3 separate regions of the Homo sapiens genome follow, and all the other regions are linked to region 3. The links are contacts of gene promoters, found by promoter capture Hi-C in blood cells and fetal thymus (Javierre and others, 2016). All regions are on one chromosome and are shown on one strand. The core of a region is centred on a gene start or on the middle of the fragment in contact, and the rest is flanking DNA. Distances in the headings are between cores, read along the strand shown.

Region 1 (4,163 bases), core at 1,032-3,531, 360 kb after region 3:
GCTTTTATAATATTAGGAACATAGTTAACTGTTTTAACCATTTGATGTATTATAAACATTCCCCCATCACTAAATATTCTACAACATAATTTTCAATGATTAAGTGGTGAAGAGCTATGCTTCAGCAAATAGAAATGGCCTTTACACATTTGAGGAGTTCCTAAACTCTTTTCTGTGTTAAAGACAGGCTACCCACCTCAGAGCTGAGTCTGTAATAAAGTAAATAAAAATATGCAGTTGGGCTTCAGAAATGATAACATTGCTACTTATGTATGGACCACCCTTCTCTTAACAGTTCAGTAACTTCATACCTTCCATAGCAGAGGCCACTATAATATATTGTTGAGGTCAGGGTTATTTCACCCATTTCACAAATGAATAAATGAACACACAGACTGATATGAACAGAAACCAACTTTCCCAAAGGATTATCTTCCTTGTTTTATACTCCAAATATACTCAGAGAAGCAAGCATAATAGGAACTTATGGACTAAGTTATATGAAAATAATGTATGATTTTTCAAAGCTTAAATAATAATTTAAAATAGCATATGTCATTTGCTTTCATTAATTCAGCTAACAGGGGCTTTTTGAAAAACAAGAAGGGAATCTCAAAAGAAAAAGTAGAAAAGATAATGTTCTTGTTTATATGCCCTTGGGGAGTTATTTCCCTCCTACAATACTACAGTATAGCTGAGGTAACCACAGTATTCAGTTCCCACGTTTTCTAGGCTACTATTCTGAGATTCAGAGATTGTAGGTTTTGCGGATTTGTAGGTTTTGGATTCAGTCGAAATAATATTTCATTAATTGTTATAGTTACACTGACTCCTTATAATCATTCATGAAACTAAAGTTGTCAGTATTTTAATGTGGCAATTCTAGTCTCCTTCATTAACTCAACTGGTTTAGCCAAACATGCATAACCATTTAGCTCTGCACCACCTGTAGAGAGGAAGTTAAATGAGGAAAAGTAAAGCATCATACTATCACAATTAAGTTTTTGGATACACCTTAATTTTACCCACTCAGAAGAAAAATTGTAACCACCACAATAAAGCTGGAAAAGGTCATGATTAAAGAATGGCTGTCATTTTGTTCCACTCCTGGGAACTTCTATCCACCCACTCCCAAGTGATGGACGTGTTTCTCTCAGTGCACTGGATTTAGATGTGTGAAAGGATGAAGACAGTTAAATTTTTCAAATCACCAGAGAGCCAGTAAAGCAGCATTTGATCTGCCCTGTGGAAAGCATCTGGGAACAAAAGAAAAACTCATGAATGACACAAAACCGAGGTCACCTGAAGATACCACTAAGATACTAAAGCAGGCTCAGCTATCTCACAATGGAAGGGATCCTAGTGAAGGAACCCAACCTAGAAACCAATGCATTGACATACAAATCAGAGAATTCCCCCACAAAATGATAGGATCTATTATCTTTCTTTTATTATCCTTACTTTTGAAATTTGATATTTATTAGGAATTGGTTTTGAATTATTAAAATTTTATTCGTGATTCCACATAATACATACTCCCTGAGTAATAAACCTACATGGATAAAACAAAACATTTTTAATAAGACCAGATTATCTGCCAATATCAACTTAAAATAAAAAAAAATAAAAACAAAACCAAGCAAAATTTAACTCATCTCAGTCTGCCACTCTCTTTTTCTTTTTAAAATTACTTCTGTCTAAAATCTGAAATCTAAAAATAGCCAATTCTATAAGCTTTCTCAAGGCCCTGAAAACAATCACATATGAATGGTAGTGATGATTAGTATGATTAATCCTATAGATTTATTATCTCTAGGAAGCTAGAGGTTATTAATTTTTATTAACAAATATTATTTCAAAAACACTGTATTAAATCACCTCATTAAAACTAGACACCTCTTTACGATAACATCTCTGTTACAGAAATGGAAGCAAAAGTTGTATGTCCTTGTGTATCTTTGTAATTTTTAACACTGGTAAGAAAAGAGCAATATTTATACAACACTGAAGAGCATCATATTTCCAAATATCTTTAAAAAGCAATATACTGCCACCTATTTTGCCATCTGTAAGTTGCTGATTCTTATTGCCTAATACTTTTCTTTAGGTATCAATGGGATGAAGGTTTTCTTACAATAGTTCCATAAATTAAAGTAGTAAAAAAAAATTTATAATTTCAAAACAGAAATGAGAAAGTCACTTTTGCTTTTTGAATGTGTACTCAATGGGAATAATTTTCATTCTTCCACTTGAATTGGTTTCAGATCTATTCAGCACCTATGTGTTTTCTAATTAAATGGCATGATCCACTCCACATTTTAAAAATGGTATTATATGTCTGTTTCCGTTTTCCGAGAGGATATTTTCTAAGCACATCCAAAATAGTTCAACATTTTCCCACTACTGCAAAAAATAGCAACACATATCCTCAACACACGTATTACACCACATGAATACATTTTCGCTTTTGGTCTCCCTTCAGTTCCATCTGCACTCTTGCTGTGCAATAGCTATAGCATAAAAACGTCTATTCTCACATGCTTTTGATATTACACTATTTAATCACATACAGCTGTGGCTTATGAGACTGTTACAAAACAATTTCAATGTAGTACTTGAAGCCAATTTTGAATAAACATCAACCATTTACTCTGAATAAAATGTTTGACATTAAAAAAGTTTTATTTTAAAAGAAAATACTTTTTTTGTTGTTTTGGTTTGATTTTAGAATTTGACATGGGCATAATTGTGACTGAACTCTCTCTGCCAAAAGACTGATAATGTCAAAAAGGTTGTGTAAAATCATACTAGTGCAAAAATGAAGCTTTCCAGAATTCCTGAAGCCAGAAAGACCTAGAATGAACTTGCATCCTCCCTTCTATATTGTGTCCCTCCCTGCAAATTATCCCTACCCCCAGCCCTCAGATACATTTTATTACTTCATGGAAATAATTTTGTGCTATAATTTTGTGCTATTTTTTTTCCAAATTGAAAGAAAGTGAAAGGAAAATGCTTTAGAAAGATGCTGTTAAATATACATGATATTTTCCTTAAGTTTGAATCCATTCTGGAGAAAAGAAAATACCATGAACTTTTTACGTTTCTACTCCTTTTAAGTAGGCACCAAACTCAGTGTTGCAAAAACAATGTCTATATCATGGAAAAAAAATAGCAAAACATGCACTGGGATTGTGTTCAATCCCACTGATAATGAAGGCTTGGGGGAGTTAAGAAAAAAAAACAAAACTAAGAAACAAGGATGGCCCCTTCCTTCTATTTTCCTCTTATTTGAAACCAATTAAAAATTCTATACAGTCTAAAGTGAGACAAACAGGATTTATCATAGTTTCATGCTATCATAGTTTCATGCTATTATATTACCCCCCGAAGCGAAAGAAAATATTTGGAGTTGTACCTAAAAATTCTATCGCTGGAAGATTTTAGAAAACTAGTTTTGTATGTTTCAGGCTTTCAAAGGAAAACAGAACTTTGGAGTTTTCAAGGCTGTTTTAAAACAACTGGCAAGTTACCAACTGGATATCAATGCAAATCTGAGGCAGGAAGTACTAAGGAAATTCTAAACTCATTCCCTCCCTCTGCAAGATTTTCTACATTTTCATGTGTAAGGAGGGTGTTACAGGGTTGTTTTGTTTTGCTTTTGAAGGATCTGTACATTCACATCTTTAAGAATATCCTTTGCTCCGTGGAAGCCTCTCTTCCTTCACCTACTTGTGTTTTCAAGCGTTTGCTCATTCTATGGCACAATCAATTGTGCTTCAGCTAGACTTTTAGAGACGGGTGGCTGCAGATGGTTGAATATTCAGCCTGAAATCAACGTGCAGTTGATTAACTACTTCTTACACCTGGCCCCTTCTTCATACCAGGCTCTGAACACAATCTGAGTATCACCAGCCAAGAAATTCTGTTTGGGTCCACTAGTCTGAACCTCTTTCTTCAAGACCTTCTGGGGAACCAGAAGGGAATGCAGTAAATTCATGTGAGAGCAACATCATTGGCAACTGGGCACTGGATTGGTAGAAACATAGTGAACTGGTAAGGGTGTGGAAAAGGAAGAAAGGAGAAACTTGCTGTGTGTGCTTAGGTAACTTTTTAAGTTTTATGAAGATGACTAAAGTTTTCCAAATATATGTGAGAGAAATATC
Region 2 (3,715 bases), core at 48-2,547, 500 kb after region 3:
TTACTGGGAATTGATCTTTTGAAATGGTATGGTATATGTCAGGTTAGATACTAGAGAGTTAACAAGAATTACAGGCCGCTGTTTGTCAGGATTAACAGTCAGAATTATAGCATTAGTGTAGGCAATCCAGAGTTCCTTTTTGAATCAAATTTACATACTTTCCCCACGGGCTTCAGGGATGCCAGTCAGGTGCTGAGCTAGCAGCTTCTTTTGTATAAGTTGCATGTGCTAGGGCTTAGCCAAAAGCCCAAGCATGGGGCATTTGGCCAACTTCTCCACATATGCAGTACACCGACTTAGGAAGGAAGTAATAGTGTTTCTACCACAACACCTCACTTAATGCTTGATAAGAGGGAATGTGCTCATAACTTACTGCAAAGCACAAAGAAGATGATAAGAACAACATTTAGCAAGAGACTCTCAGCAGCTTTGCTTGTGCAGTTCCTAAAGACTGACTCAAATGTCACAAAAGGTTAAAAGAGACCGGGTTGCAAGGCAGAAGCAGTCCTTAGGTGTTGAGAGTGCACCAGAAGCCCCTAAGTCAGCAGGGTTCAGAAGAAGAAGTGGATATGGTGGCTGCCACGTAGGGCAAGCCTGGAACAAGGCAGCGGAATGTCATAAGCACCGGACCCAAGTCAGGGACCAACAGCCAGTGAGGAACCAAGACCTAGTTATGACAGAACAACAAAGATTAGCTGGGAGTCACTCAAGAAGTGGGGAAAACCAGAGTCAGTTTGAACCCAAGACTGGATTGATGGTGAAGTCAAAACAAGGTGGAAGGCAAGTAAAAAGCAAAGTTAGAAACAAAGCAAGGGGCGTCAAGCATGATTGAAACTCAGTTACCTCTGGATATCCAGAAATCCAATGCTAAAGCATTAATCACAAACTCAAATGACTGCAGCTCCAGGCTGGTGACCTGAAGGTAGGGATCTGGTGGCTAAGGGTATGACAAAGAGAGTTGTAGTGTGTAGGGCCAACCCTAGAGAGAGGGTTTTTCATTCCATTTTAAAAACATATCTCATATTATATTCTGGCAGCTGAATATATCCACCATCGCATGTTCTAAGATAGGCACTAGGTTAAGTAACGGAGGAGGACTAGTTCAGGAGGTCTGATGGAGTAGGGTTACCTGCCTTGAAGATCATGCCGAGGGAGGTTCTATAGAAAATAAAGCCATTGATTTATCAGCCAGGCATGTGATTGTAGAAAACGAGACACTTAAAACAAAATACAAATTTGCATAGATTCAATGTGCACCACAATTTATCCTCCAGCAATTTATCGAGTTCTACTTAATAGCTCTAAAAGCAGGAAAAACAAACTTTAAAGATAAACCATACAAACTTATTAAATATGCGTTAGCCCAGGAGGGTAGAAAGTTGTTAGAGAACTGGGGAATGTAAATGTAGACAACTGGAGGTGAAAATGGGGAAGGAAACAGCTAAGAAAACAATAATGTTAACAGAGGAAGTCAACTGTTGAGGCAATAGTCACATTACAGGTGAAATAGCAATATCTATGCCACAAAACTAAAAAAAATAGCAGGAAATCATGAAAATACAATGGGGCAGCAATCGAAATGAACATGAACATACATGGAGTAACCTGTTCTATGGGGAAGGCACCACTCTGTGGTTAGGTGCGGGGCTTCAATGACTAGATGCCCAGGTTGGACATTTGTAGTGTGTAGGGCCAACCCTAGAGAGATGGTTTCTCATTCCATTTTAAAAACATATCTGATATTATATTCTGGTAGCTGTATTTATCCACCATTGCATGTTCTAAGACAGGCAGCCTGCTAGGTGGCACTAGCTGGGTGACCTTAACCAAGTTAGTTAACCCCTGTATAGGTCATTTTTCTTCTCTGAAAAATGGGAACACTTATACAAATAAGGTTATCTTACAGGGCTGTTATGAAGAATGAAATTGTATTTGCAGAGCACTCAAACCCTGCTTGGCATACAGTCTTATGTAAGTTTAAATATAAATGTACTGGGTAATTTACAAATATTATTTTACTTAATCCTATCACATCTACAAGATTATTATTCTCAAATCACATTTGATAGATAAATTAAGGTTCAAATTATATCAGTAACTTTCTAAGGATCACAGAGCTGGGAGTTGGCAGGGCTGGATTAGGTGTCTCACCTTCTTATTGTATCACACTACCACCAGCTCCAGGGCATAAAAAATGTCACATTCTAGCAGCCCGCCTGGCAACTTTCTCCACATTGAGGTTTCTGTTTCCTAACAGTTTATTTTCTAGAATAGTTCTTACCTTTAGAAATTGACCAAACTCTTTACCAGGACTGTCAGAAATGGTTAAATTACATGCAACCATATTGGGAATTAGAAGATAGGAGGAGAAATAGATTTTCTCATGAATATGCAAATGAAATTTATCTATATATTTAAAACAGGCATTAAGAGAAAATGTGAGCCTCTGTCAGAGATAGAATGATGCTGGAAGTAAGTTTGTGGAATTCACTATCTTAACTATTGTGAAATAATTATACTGTCAACACATTGAAGTTTCTTATCTAAATGTGAGCAACTCCAAGCCATACATCAGAATAAAGGTCCAAAAAAAGAAGAAGAAAGTTATAGAAATATTTTTCCCCCAATAATTACTAGAGGCTAAGGTTCAGATTTGCTTTTGTAAAGGCAAACTGACTGCCCATAGCCCTAATATCACATCTGGAAATTCCAAGTTCCGGCGTGCAAGCATTATGGACAAGGCCTCTGGAAAAATCTCATGCCAGGGAGAATTGTGGATTCTCTGCCATCCATGCTGAGCTTGGAATGTTACTGTCCTATTAAAGTTTCCAAGCTCTTTTCCCTAAGAAGCTTTGTGGGCACCCTGAGCAGGCCTTGCCCAGAGCCTTAGGACTCAGAAATAAATCAGAAAGGGAGGATACCTAAAGAGGAAAGCTAGAAGTAAACATATGGTGAGAGAGAAAAGAGGAGAAACGTGACTGTATCAAGTTGTTTGAGACTAAGCTTGAAAAGGCTACTTAAAAACAGGAAGGAGAGGGAAGCAACAGAGAGAATAGAGGCAGATGGAAAATTTAAACAGAGCCAAGAGAAAGGAAGGCAAAAGAGGAAAATTATGAACTATGGAATTAGATTTCATGCAAGGGAGTCATCAGTGTGTGGACTATGGCACGTTTTCAGAAGAAATTCCCCACAGTTCCTCCTACTTCAAGACAGAAAGTAGTATAAAGCATGAAGGAAGAATAGAAAGGAAAAAAGGAAAGGGAAAGGCCTATGATGATACATTTGTTAATCCTTCTATACCCTTCACTCTTATTCCATTTACTTTAGGATTTATTCCCATCTACCCAGTATATAGAGAATAAACAAAAATACAGGAGACTTGTATATGCATCTTTTACTCAGAGTTCAAAGCAATCCACGAATAACTCAAATGTTTATCATGCCTCACTGTCTAAAGCAGGATGTAAATGGAAAAGCAAGTCCTGAAGGGAAGAAAGCAAAAACCAGGTCATCCTGCTTTCTTCTCTGTTTCAAGTACCATTTGGCTTCTACCTTTCCCCTAACCCCCAAAGCACACTAAACGAATGTACTGCTAATACCAGCTACACCAGGCAGGACCTCCCTAAGGGGCCCAGATTTTCTCTCCCACTTTGTCTTCTGCTTCACTTCAAGATTACACATGAGCAAGGTTTCTGCTCACACTTAAGAATAAGAT
Region 3 (4,112 bases), core at 1,504-4,003:
AACTTGGAATCATTGCCTCATGATGACTTAACTAAAGTTTGAAGTTGATAGCACTCTTTGTACAGAAGTTAACTAGATCAAGGCAGCCTGATAATTCATAAATGGCAATAATGGAATTTATTATTGTTCCTTATACAAAGACCCTTCTGTCCTGGGACATTCCTTGGACAGCACCAGACACCCTGGCAGAGAATGAATAAGACACAAAGCCGAACTTTTACAAAGCCCAACTCATTCAGCAGATATTAATTTGAACAGAGAAATCAACAATGTATACCGATTTGCAGATCACAATCACTCGAGTAATTCAAGATCTAAGTTTTAAAGCAGAGAGAAAAGTGCCACATTTGTAAATACATAGAGGTTCCATTGCTCAAACAAGCTCTTAATATGCAGCCTCTTTTTTTGCATCTCCTGCATTCCTGAATCATTTTAACTTGTATTGAGAAATAGCCTTGAGAAATGTAGGAACTGGTATTCTTTTTATTTGTGACAATGATACCCTAATAGATGCTGGAATCATTAAAAGTCTTTGCTATACCATTTTTATTCTCTCTTTTTGATTCTGTGAGAAGTGAACCATGGTTAAGCAATACTTCTACAGGGATTAGTGACTATGCCATTAATTTCTCATATATGTTGTTATATTTTCAGATGAAAGATGTTATGTAAGTTGATGTACTATTGACATATTTAAATGTAATTTTTATTGGGTAAACATTTTAATCAGTGACCTTAGTGGATTGAAGTACACATTCAGGTTCATGGAACCATCGATAAAAATGTCAGCCATGAACTACTCTTCGGCTATAATCCTACTTTCGCCTGTGCAATCAATACAATCAGAGTCAAACAATATAGTGCCTGCAATGAAAGACTAAAATTCATATACTATTATAATATATTGGATGACAGTTCAAAACTAGGGTTTGTTTGTAGTTTTACTGAACCTTTTAGGCAAAGTTCTATCAATAGCATTTGTGAGATCTAAACCTAGAATGAATGCAGACACGACATAATTAGAAACAGAACAAGAAGCACTGGAACCAGTCTACGTGTTCCATCTGAGACACGTTAGGCTCTAGGTCCACAGGCTTCAGACACGAGGCTCAAATATACTTATGATTCAGCAACAGTTCTTGTCTGTGCATGGAGGCACACCCAAACTATGCAGCCCCTAGTGGCATATACCTCCCACAATTACTGGAATAAAAGCATTGTTTAAGCCCACAAAAATTTCAGTTGAGAGGATGCAAATTGTGATTGAAACCCGTTCAAAATTGTAACACGACAATTTAACACAGGATTTCAAATTTCCTTTTTTTTATTTTTTTGGAGTGTTCCATCTAATGCGTTATGCTGTGATTGCTAGAGGCTATTTGGGAAGCCCATTTATCATGGATAACTTTGGGGAAAATTACTATATTGTAAACCTGTTAGTGACTAGAATTCCCCTCTATTAGATTCAAATGTTTGGATTCAGACTAACCAAGCTGTGATTATGAGAAGCTGGAGAAATGTTTGAAAGCTGGGGGTAGAAGCGGCATACTGCCACTGAAACCTCAATTTTGGAGTGTGAGAAACCAATGCACTCGAAAAACATTCTGCTTTACAGGACTAATATGAAATTATCCTAAACGGAGGTTTTCAGAGAAAGAAAATGGCAGGAAATTCATTAATGCTCCCACTCCCTGAATGTGTGTGTGTTTTCCTTTTTCCATGTTAAAATTGTGATTACAGAAATGAGACGAGATCAATATTACCTACAGCTTGACATTCAGAGACAACGACAGAACTAAATATCCATTAACTGTCTCTTTTCTCCGGCCTTTTCTCTAGAAACCTCCCTCAAATCACCCACATTGATAGAGAAATGACATGAAAAATGGCCCACAAACAACGGCGCTTTCCTTGAAGAAAACAACTTTCACGTTTTTCTCCCTTTTTTCCCTGCAGACTGTGTTACGCTCCTTAATTTGTCCCTGCACAAGAAATAAGCATATGGATCCGTGAATGTACCCTTCCTCCTCTGCTGCATTCTGAAAGGAAAGTCAGAAGCTCGTCAAACTTAGAACTTGAAGCTAAGCTAAGACACCCTCGGCAATGCAGGGGAAAAGTAGGAATGAGAACAAAATGAAAAATCCTGAAGAAACCACTCTGGGGGAAGAAGTCAACAAAGAAATTATACCACTATGAGGCTCATGAAGCCCGTGCAGGCCAAAAACCTTGTTCCTAAAAGCTCCCCATGTGTGGCTGCTAATGCACAGGAAATGTGATTAGCTGCCTGAGAAAGGCCTAGAATTACTCCCATTCTGACTAGATTACTGGATAATTAGATTGGTAGCGCTCTTCCCTGACTGTGGCTGTCAGATTAAATCTGGCTGGTTCTCTTTAGATAACTGTCATGCCCCAAAATAACAAACAGAGACTGACACAGCGAGGAGCCTTTTAAAAAGTGTTCCAAGAATCAAAGTGCCTATTTTTTCTTAATAATAAAACATGAACAATGTTCAATGGACTTGAGTTTATTCAAATTGTCATTATATTTGATTAAGAAAATGCTACCAGACAAAGCCTGGCCAGACAGGCTTAATCTCTGATGGTAAATGAACATCGCCAGGCTTGACTAGCCACCTCTGGGATCGACTGAGGGAAAGGCAGACTTGAATTACTCAGAGAATAAGCCAGTGGTTCTGTTTTAATGCTCTGAGTCAGCAGCCTTTTATAGCTCAAATCAAGGTCAACAAGATATGTAGAGCACCTTCTCTGAGCACTAGCTGGAACACGGCGGCTCTTCTTTCTTCCACTCTGAGACAAGAACACATGCGCTTTTCCTGTAAGTGTTGTCTCCCCAGTTATTCTGGAGACCATCCAGAAGAGAATGAGAATAAAGAAACCAACAGAAGAAAGGTACAAAGGGTCCCAGGTTCTTACCAAGTTCCCACAGTCTTGTTCTGCTGTCCCTAGTGACTAAATGTTTGCAGTGACTGGGGCAGTGTTTCCTCAGGTGTTATAGCCTGGCCTCTGGCAAGAGATGGGAAAGGGGATAGAAAGATGAAATGCTTTTTGGTGGTACACATGAAACCATACATTTTTACTTATTTTATTTTTATATGGCAAATATAACTGATTTTCTATTTATAATAGAGATACAAAGTTTCCTTTTTAAGGAAACTAACAACAAAGTGTTCAAAAATAAACATAGATGATCAATTTGTTTTAAGAAAAGGTTAACAGGCAGGTATGGCAAAATGCAAATATAACAAAGGTGGAAAGCTGAGAAACCTGGGTGTAAATAAGAGAAGACAGAGCAAAGCATCAGATCAGATGGTGAATCCCAGCATTTCCACTTAGAATTGCAAACTCTTGGGCTAGTTCATTCACTTCACCCAGGGTCAGAATCCACTCATTGGCAGATCTACGGGTTATAACCTTTCTGATCGCAGAAAGTTGTAAAATATCAGCAGTGAGCCTGCCACAGCGTGCATGTTCAGTAAGTGAAAGCAGTTATTGCTTTTAACAAGTGGAACTGGAGTTCTATGTATCTCTTCATAAAATGCCTAAGAAATGTCAGTTCTCTTTGGGTAGGACTTGCCAAATCTCCTCATTGTTTGGTTCCCTCTTTCTTGGGAGGACAGCTCTAAGAAGAATCCCTTGGCTTCAGATGTTTAATATGCATCTCCAAAGCCCCTAGAAGGACCAGGCAAATTTCACTGTGCCTCTGCTCTTCATGGACACCACTGACTTTAGCATAAGTGTCCTGGTCTTTACATCTCTCACCCTGTGCAGTGTGCCTGTCTTGAGTAGATGCTCAACAAATGTTACCTCAGTGAATATGACAATTAAAGAAGCAGTGCAGTATACATTTTTTAAATTCAAATGTTCATACAGTATACAAGAGAGAAAAAAACAAGTGGCCAAATCTTTTTCAAACTCAATAAAATAAGCTAAAAAATTAAAAGTCATTGCCATTTCTTTTTAAAGTGAATGTATCTATTGTTTAAAAAGTATTTGATATACTACTAAAAGTAATAATTGGCACAAACATTCTGGAAGGCAATTTAGCAGTACATTAAAACGTGTATGAAATATACATTTAAGATATACCATTT

The links. Contacts are between HindIII fragments. The CHiCAGO score rates a contact against its expected background, and 5 or more counts as called.
Region 1: a contact is called between a fragment that was not itself captured here and the fragment with the promoter of RBMS3-AS2 in region 3, in 1 of 17 cell types (endothelial precursors). The highest score is 5.9, in endothelial precursors.
Region 2: a fragment that was not itself captured here is called in contact with the fragment with the promoter of RBMS3-AS2 in region 3 in 1 of 17 cell types (endothelial precursors); the score reaches 5.2 in endothelial precursors.

Annotation. Positions count from the first base shown.
Region 1 is chr3:29,285,376-29,289,538 of GRCh38, reverse strand. All of the region lies in intron 1 of RBMS3 (RNA binding motif single stranded interacting protein 3), which reads right to left. Among named protein-coding and RNA genes, the nearest start is that of RBMS3, 6.4 kb to the right of the region's middle. The HindIII fragment of the contact is 1,090 bases long and covers 1,737-2,826 here.
Region 2 is chr3:29,141,145-29,144,859 of GRCh38, reverse strand. No RefSeq gene overlaps it. Among named protein-coding and RNA genes, the nearest start is that of RBMS3-AS3, 140 kb to the left of the region's middle. The HindIII fragment of the contact is 3,111 bases long and covers 1-2,852 here.
Region 3 is chr3:29,641,457-29,645,568 of GRCh38, reverse strand. RBMS3-AS2 (RBMS3 antisense RNA 2) reads left to right here and starts at 2,753. Exons shown (of 3, transcript NR_174948.1): 1 at 2,753-2,910. The region is part of intron 4 of RBMS3 (RNA binding motif single stranded interacting protein 3); the gene reads right to left. The HindIII fragment of the contact is 8,371 bases long and covers 1-4,112 here.